Linked DNA regions of Homo sapiens: region 1 is linked to region 2. Evidence: promoter capture Hi-C in 16 types of primary human blood cells and fetal thymus (Javierre and others, 2016). All regions are on one chromosome and are shown on one strand. The core of a region is centred on a gene start or on the middle of the fragment in contact, and the rest is flanking DNA. Distances in the headings are between cores, read along the strand shown.

Region 1 (3,340 bases), core at 86-2,585, 160 kb after region 2:
TGTCCCCACGCTTCCCCAGGGCCCCCAGGGCCGGACTGGGTGCTTGTCCTCAGCATGTTCCTCCCCACCCAGACCTGGGGAGCAGGAGCAGTGGAGCCAGTCCTGCCTTGCCCGCCCCCGCTCCATCCCCCGATGAGCATCTGTGCCAGAACCCGCAGGTGTAGATACCTAAAGCCCCCTAGCCTGATGCTTCTGGTCCTGCCTTTGGCCTGGGCGGGGGCGGGGGGTGGGGTGAGGTGAGGTGAGGTGAGGGATGGCATTCAGCGTCACTGCGGGGCAATCAGTGGGCGTGGCCCCACACAGATAGATGGACACAGCTGCTGTGGAGGCAAACAGGGAAAGAAGACGAAACCCTTTTTCTGAGCTGGAGCCTGTCTTGGCTCAGAGAGTCCTCAGGAGCTCTGTCCTTTTACCTGCCGCCATCAACCCCCTGTTCCGCCCAGATAGGCTGATGAATCCCACCACAAATCCAGGAGCCTAGAGCTTGGGGCTGGAGAGCCAGTGGGAGTAGCCAGAAAAGAGTGTGACGGCCAGCTCTCCTTCTTTTCTCCTCCCTGTGGCTGGAAGGAGCCCCAGCGCGTCGCTCCTCTCCCGCCTGTGCCCCTGATGGCGGCCTTGCTCACACCTCTAGCTTCCGTTCTCCCCAGCTGATTCCTGCTGACCCAGCCCTTCCCTGTTCCTTGTTCACCTGACGATGCCCCTGCCCCCACCTCCAGAATCTCCCTTCCCTATCCCAGCCCAGCCCCTGCTCACCCAGAACAGCAGCGCCAATAAAGACACCGCCCATGGCAGCTGCAGCCTTGGATACGGAGATGCCGATAATGATGCTGCCAGCCACCAGCCCGAGAGCCACGCAGGCCAGCTGCAGGCCGCGGAAGTCTCTGCTGCTGATGGGGATGTCCATGCAGGCCCACCCGGGGCACTGCCTCCAGCCGGTGCAGTCTGGCCCCAGAAAAGTCCTGGAAGTTTCTGGGCTCTTGGATGTCTCCTTGTTGGCGCTCCAACTTCAGGGTAGGAGTTTCTGGGCAGTAAGATGATAGGTGGGGAACCCTGGGATTTATCTGCAGTCCTATTCCACTGCTCCACTACGGGCCCCCCAGTCCCACCTTGACCAGGGATCTGTACGAGGTCACCCAGCTTACTCTTCCTCTCTCAAAGCCCTCTGAAGCTGAAGCCCACCCTTGGGACTCCTGTCTGGCTACATTTCTGCTTTGGCTGCCAGAGTTCTAGGGAGCTGGGCCTGTTCCATAGGATCCTTCCCTGCCAGCCTCCACCCAGGAGAGTTCAAGCTCCCCTGCCCAGGACATCCTGCCCCAGCTTCCTAGAGCCACTTACTTGCCACTGAACCTCAGCCTATGAAAATTTAAAGCAATGAGAGGCAGGGTGAGGGGGGAGTTGGTCCAGCGGCCACAGGCTCCTCAGAGATGTAGGCAGCAGGGAGGTGCTGAGTTATTCATGAGGTTGCAATGTGAGTGGCTGTCTGGGTCCCAGGGCCCAGCGGGCAGTCAGCCCAGGTTCCACTGCTGGTTCCTGAGGAGGAAGAACGAGCTGGTGGCTTTGCATGTCGTTCAGAAGCCAGGGATGTGAGGAGACTCCTGATCACATGCTCAGGGCCCGCTGTAATGTGCTCTGCCCTTTGGCCTGGAGGTGCACCTGGGGTCTCTGCTTGGAGTCTGAGATAGACACACAGCAGGAGGCTCAAGAGACAGGAACTGCACCTGGTATGGAAAGCGGACAGGGAGAGGCATCCCTCCAAGTCTGCTCCCTACCCCTGCCCATCCCATCCCCATCCTGTCCACCTCTGGGCTCCCAGGTAGGGCTGAGGGCGTCCTAGTTTGAGGCTTGATCTCAGGGGACTCCCTTGTCCTCAGGTGGGCTTGGTACCCACCCCCCTTTTAGTGGCCAGTGGAATGGAGAGTGAACCCTTCTAGCCACCTTGGGGATCCCGACTGGGAGTGAAAGGGAAGAGCAGTGGTGGTGCTGGTGTGGGCAGGAGGAAAACACCTAAGGGGTAGGGTAGAGAAGAGGACTTGGTAGGGGCTAGGTGCCGGGAGTGGGAGGCTGGGTCATGGTTGGTGCCTTCCCATCCGCTGAACTGAGCACCTGCACCCAGCCTGTCTGAGTTACTTGCAGGATGCCCCACCCCAAGGCTGGGCAGTGGTCACCAATGCAGCCTAGCCCTGAGCCCTGCCCCGGCCCCCAGTTCCAGCCTTTATCATTCATTGCGTTATTTGGCCCTTTATGGATTGGGGACCCCCCAGTCTCAGAATATGGCCCCGGCCTGGCCCTGCACCTGGGCACAATTCCTAGGGTCCCATAATCCTGCTCGGAGTCCCGTCGCCAGCCTCCCTGGCCTCTCTTTGGATGCCCCCTCTCTGCACTGCATCTGCAGTCTCATATTGCCAGGCTCAACTTCTTGTTCCTCCACCTGCCTCCATGGCTGCCCTGTTCTTGTTCTATCTCCTCTGTAGGCTGAGAGCCCCTTGAGGGCAGGTTCCAGGAGTGAGCTCCCCAGAATGCTGTGGCTGGGAGGGACCTGAGCTAGGCTTCTGAACATGAGGACAGAGTTCAGGGAGAGGGCTTGGACTGCACAACCACCTCCAGTCATCAAAGAGGAGGGCTGTGGACACAAGGGAACCTCTGTCTCTAACAAGAGGCATTCCTTGTATGTGGAGAAGGGGGCCTGAGAAGGCCCAGGGTCACCTGAGTTGGAGCTTCGGCTCATGATGAGTCTGTAGAGAGGGGTGACTGCAGCACACAGATGGGCCCTGGACTGTGTTCCTGTTCCCCACAGAGGGAACACCCCTGGAGCTGGGCATTCCCCAGCCACGGTGCTGCTGCCAGCATCTGCTGTGCCTCCTGCCTGGATGAGATCTGATTATTCCTCTAATTAGGCATCAAATCATAGCCCATGTCTCTGTCACACATAATTGATCCCCCACTGACTTAGTTTTAGAAGGAGCCACCAAAATAATTGTCCATGAAACGTGTTCCTTGCTCCTCTCAAAGTCTAAGGCTGAGGGCGACTCTCTCACACCCTCACCAAGATAGAAGCTCTTGGGGCCGCGTTTTCCACCTCGCACTATGGGGCTCGGGCCAGCCATTCCACCTCCCTGAGCCCACTGCCTTGTCTGGTGATGGGGATGGGGGTGGCAGAGGCACCTGTGCACTGCTTCAGATCTCAGAAAACACTGTGATCTCAAAGGAGAGGCACGTTAAGCCTTTTTCAGTTCCAAGATCACAGAACCAGGGCCGTCCCAGCTCTTCATATAGGTGGGGAATCCAAGACATGGGGAGACAGAGGAATTGCCCCAGAGTCCTCATGGATTCTGCCCCTCTG
Region 2 (3,172 bases), core at 390-2,889:
GGAAGGGACCGTCAGGAGTGCAGCTACTTTTTCTTCCCCGAGAAGAAAGGAAAGGGGAATTCTGAATATTTTTCTTACTACCGGAGGTTTGTGTGAGGTTTTTGATCCCCTGAAATTTGTGGAAGGCTCAACACCTCAAACCAGGGGGTATCTTGCCTTGCCTGACCTGGAAGGCTCAACCCCTCAAACCAGGGGGTGTTTTGCCTTGCTGCCCTGGAAGGCTCAATCCCTCAAACTAGGAGGTGTCTTGCCTTGCTTCCCTGGAAGGTTGACCTGTTTCCTCCCTTTCCCCCTCTGAAGGTCCTTTGCACACTTCCCACTCGTGTTGTCCTCTCTGGCTGCTCCCCCAAGGGAGAATTAGGCCCCCCTCAGCATTGGCATTCCAGTAGAAATCCCACCGCAGGATCCTCCCTAAGCCATATGAGGTAGCTACGGAAACGTGGAGAGGACCCACTCACTCCGTCCAGCAGTAGGACTTGTCATCATCCACACGAACAACACCACAGGTAGGGTTGTTTGTGATCATTCACGCACACACACATTTAGCCCTCCAGAATTTGACCACCAAGGAAGTACCTTACCGGCTCCCTCGGCTTCTTCCTTTGTCTGTGCACAGAGTTGTCTCTGCAGTGTGTGAGGATGCTTTACCCTAGGTTGCCTGCTGGTTTCTTTTCACATTGCTGAGAGCTCAGGTTATTTCTTGCACTGGGTGAGTCCTGATTTCTCACCCCTGAGGCCATCACAAGAGGGTGGGGCATACCTCCTCAGGAGAGAGAACCAGAGACTGCCCCTGAAGGGGAATGTAATCACGAGCAAGCCCCCAAATTGTTATAAATAAAGTTTCCCCCCAGTGCCGCAAAAGAAATAGCACTCGAATATAAAATTTTCTTTTTTTTCTTCTCAGCAAGGCAATTTACTTCTATAGAAGGGTGCGCCCTCACAGACGGAGCAAAGGTGAGCGCACACCTGGACAAGGGAGGGGAAGGTGGTTCTTATGCCTGACCCACGTGATTCCTGATGCTGTGTCCTTCCCCTGTTGGCTAGGGTTAGACCTATAGGCTAAACTAATTCCGATTGGCTAATTTAAAGACAGTGAGGGGGTGAGTGGTTTGGCGGGAAAAATGGTTACCGCAGAGCAGGAAATCGGAATGAACCACGGTGAAGAATGAGTGAGGGAGGAGCAGGTAATCGAAAAATGTTGCTTTATGAGGAAGTTAAGTTTAAAAGTAGAAGGCAAAGAATTGAAGATACTGACATATTGATTCTTTTAAGATAAATTTAGAACTCATATCTAACAGCTGGCATGTCTGGCATGGGGCTCCGGCTGGGGCGCAGTCTTCAGCATTTGGGGCTCTGGGGTGCAGGGGGCAGAGGACGGCCGGGGCTGTGGTGCCCAACCGGTGCTAAACTCAAGCTTGGGAGGTCGCCCACGAGAAACAGTCGCCCTTCCCCACCCGCCTGCTCGGCTTGGCGGGGAGCGGGATGTCGCTGGGGGCGATGCCAGGCGGGCCGCCTCTGATAGCCTCTAGGCTCTGGCGCGCTTCCCCGCCCCTCCCGCGCAGGCGGGCGTGGGATCCCGGCTGATCCAGTCCGGGTTTTGCGGCGGAGCGGGCGGGCTGCGCGTGCGGCGGCTTCAACTGTCGCGGTAGGCAGCAGCAGGCTGAAGGGATCATGGTGCAGTACGAGCTGTGGGCCGCGCTGCCTGGCGCCTCCGGGGTCGCCCTGGCCTGCTGCTTCGTGGCGGCGGCCGTGGCCCTGCGCTGGTCCGGGCGCCGGACGGCGCGGGGCGCGGTGGTCCGGGCGCGACAGAGGCAGCGAGCGGGCCTGGAGAACATGGACAGGGCGGCGCAGCGCTTCCGGCTCCAGGTGACTGCCGGAGCGTAGTGGGATGGGCGCGGCCTGAGGGTACTCGCAGCGGCACTTTCAGCCGCCGGACCCGCCGAGGGACAGGGGATGGGGCGGGCAGAGCAGATGTGTAACTCTCCAGAATCTCTCCTTGCCCTAAGATATTCCGCACTTTCTGAGCCAGGTAGAGCACGGGGGAAGAAAGGAAACGGTAGTGTCAAGGCAGGTGGTGGAAGGCCTTTCCCTCACTGGGTCAAAGAGGAGTTTTGCTTTGTGCCAAAGAATCTCACGATTGCTGCCTATTGGAATGCGAAAACGCAAGCGTGACAACCAGTGGGATGCCAGGGGTTGAGGACTTTGGAATCGCAGAGTGTAATGGCCAAGGGGATCTGGAGAGCTTAGAGTTTTGTTTTTTGTTTTTTTTTGTTTTGTTTTGAGACGGAGTCTCGCTCTGACTCCCAGGCAAGAGTGCAGTGGTGCGATCTCGGCTCACTGCAACCTCCGCCTCCCGGGTGCAAGCGATTCTTGCTGCCTCAGCATCCCCAGTAGCTGGGATTACAGGGGCCCGCCACTACGCCTGGCTAATTTTTGCATTTTTAGTAGAGACTGGGTTTCACCATGTTGGCCAGGCTGATCTCAAACGCCTGACCTCAGTTGATACACCTGCCTCGGCCTCCCAAAGTGCTGGGCGTGAGCCACCGCGCCTGGCTGAGTTCAAGCTTCTTGATTTGTGCATTTGGATCCTAAGAGGGAGCCAGAAAGAAACCTGCCAAGTGCACAGGGAGATCTTGGCAAAGCCAGGCTAGAAGGGAAGTCTCTCTGGCTCCTGCTGTGGTGTCCAACCCCTGGCAAGCCCTTTCCATGAGCAGGTTTAGTTCCAGCCCTCCGTGGGTGGTCTGTCAACAAGCTTTTCTCCCTGCGCTGCCTTTGGATCACCTCAGTATGTGGGTTTGGAGGCGTGGAAGGGCCTGGCTGAGGGTTTGGAAGATGTGGCTTGAAGAGGGGCTTTTCCTCTGGGTGTGTGAAACACTGACCCCAGTTAAAGCCTTCTTATGTGCTGAGAGAGGGAGGGCTTGCTGTATCTGTGGGACCTGACAGGTGGGAAGGCTTTACAGGTTGGGAACCGCAGGACTCAGGAGGGTGTGCCTGGGTGGGAGACAGAAAGAGTCACAGAAAATTGTGTTCAGCAGATGTTCCGCAAGTGATTTTTGAGTTGGGGCAGAGCTGGAACTAGAACCTAGGTGCCCGCTGCACTCTGCAGCCACACTTTCGTGGAGAGGAACAGGAGAGAGATATGAGGAAGGCACCTTGCATGCCAGCCCAGGGT

The links. The method cuts DNA at HindIII sites, captures the fragments that hold promoters and counts their contacts. A CHiCAGO score of 5 or more calls a contact.
Region 1: the fragment with the promoter of KNCN here is called in contact with the fragment with the promoter of FAAH in region 2 in 1 of 17 cell types (M0 macrophages); the score reaches 5.1 in M0 macrophages.

What each region holds. Positions count from the first base shown.
Region 1 is chr1:46,550,312-46,553,651 of GRCh38, forward strand. KNCN (kinocilin) reads right to left here and starts at 1,336. Exons shown (of 4, transcript NM_001322255.2): 1 at 754-1,336. The coding sequence starts at 904. All of the region lies in intron 3 of MKNK1-AS1 (MKNK1 antisense RNA 1), which reads left to right. RefSeq lists an enhancer at 1-98. The HindIII fragment of the contact is 11,434 bases long and covers 1-3,340 here.
Region 2 is chr1:46,392,678-46,395,849 of GRCh38, forward strand. FAAH (fatty acid amide hydrolase) reads left to right here and starts at 1,640. Exons shown (of 15, transcript NM_001441.3): 1 at 1,640-1,866. The coding sequence starts at 1,672. RefSeq lists an enhancer at 1,528-2,041. The HindIII fragment of the contact is 1,150 bases long and covers 1,413-2,562 here.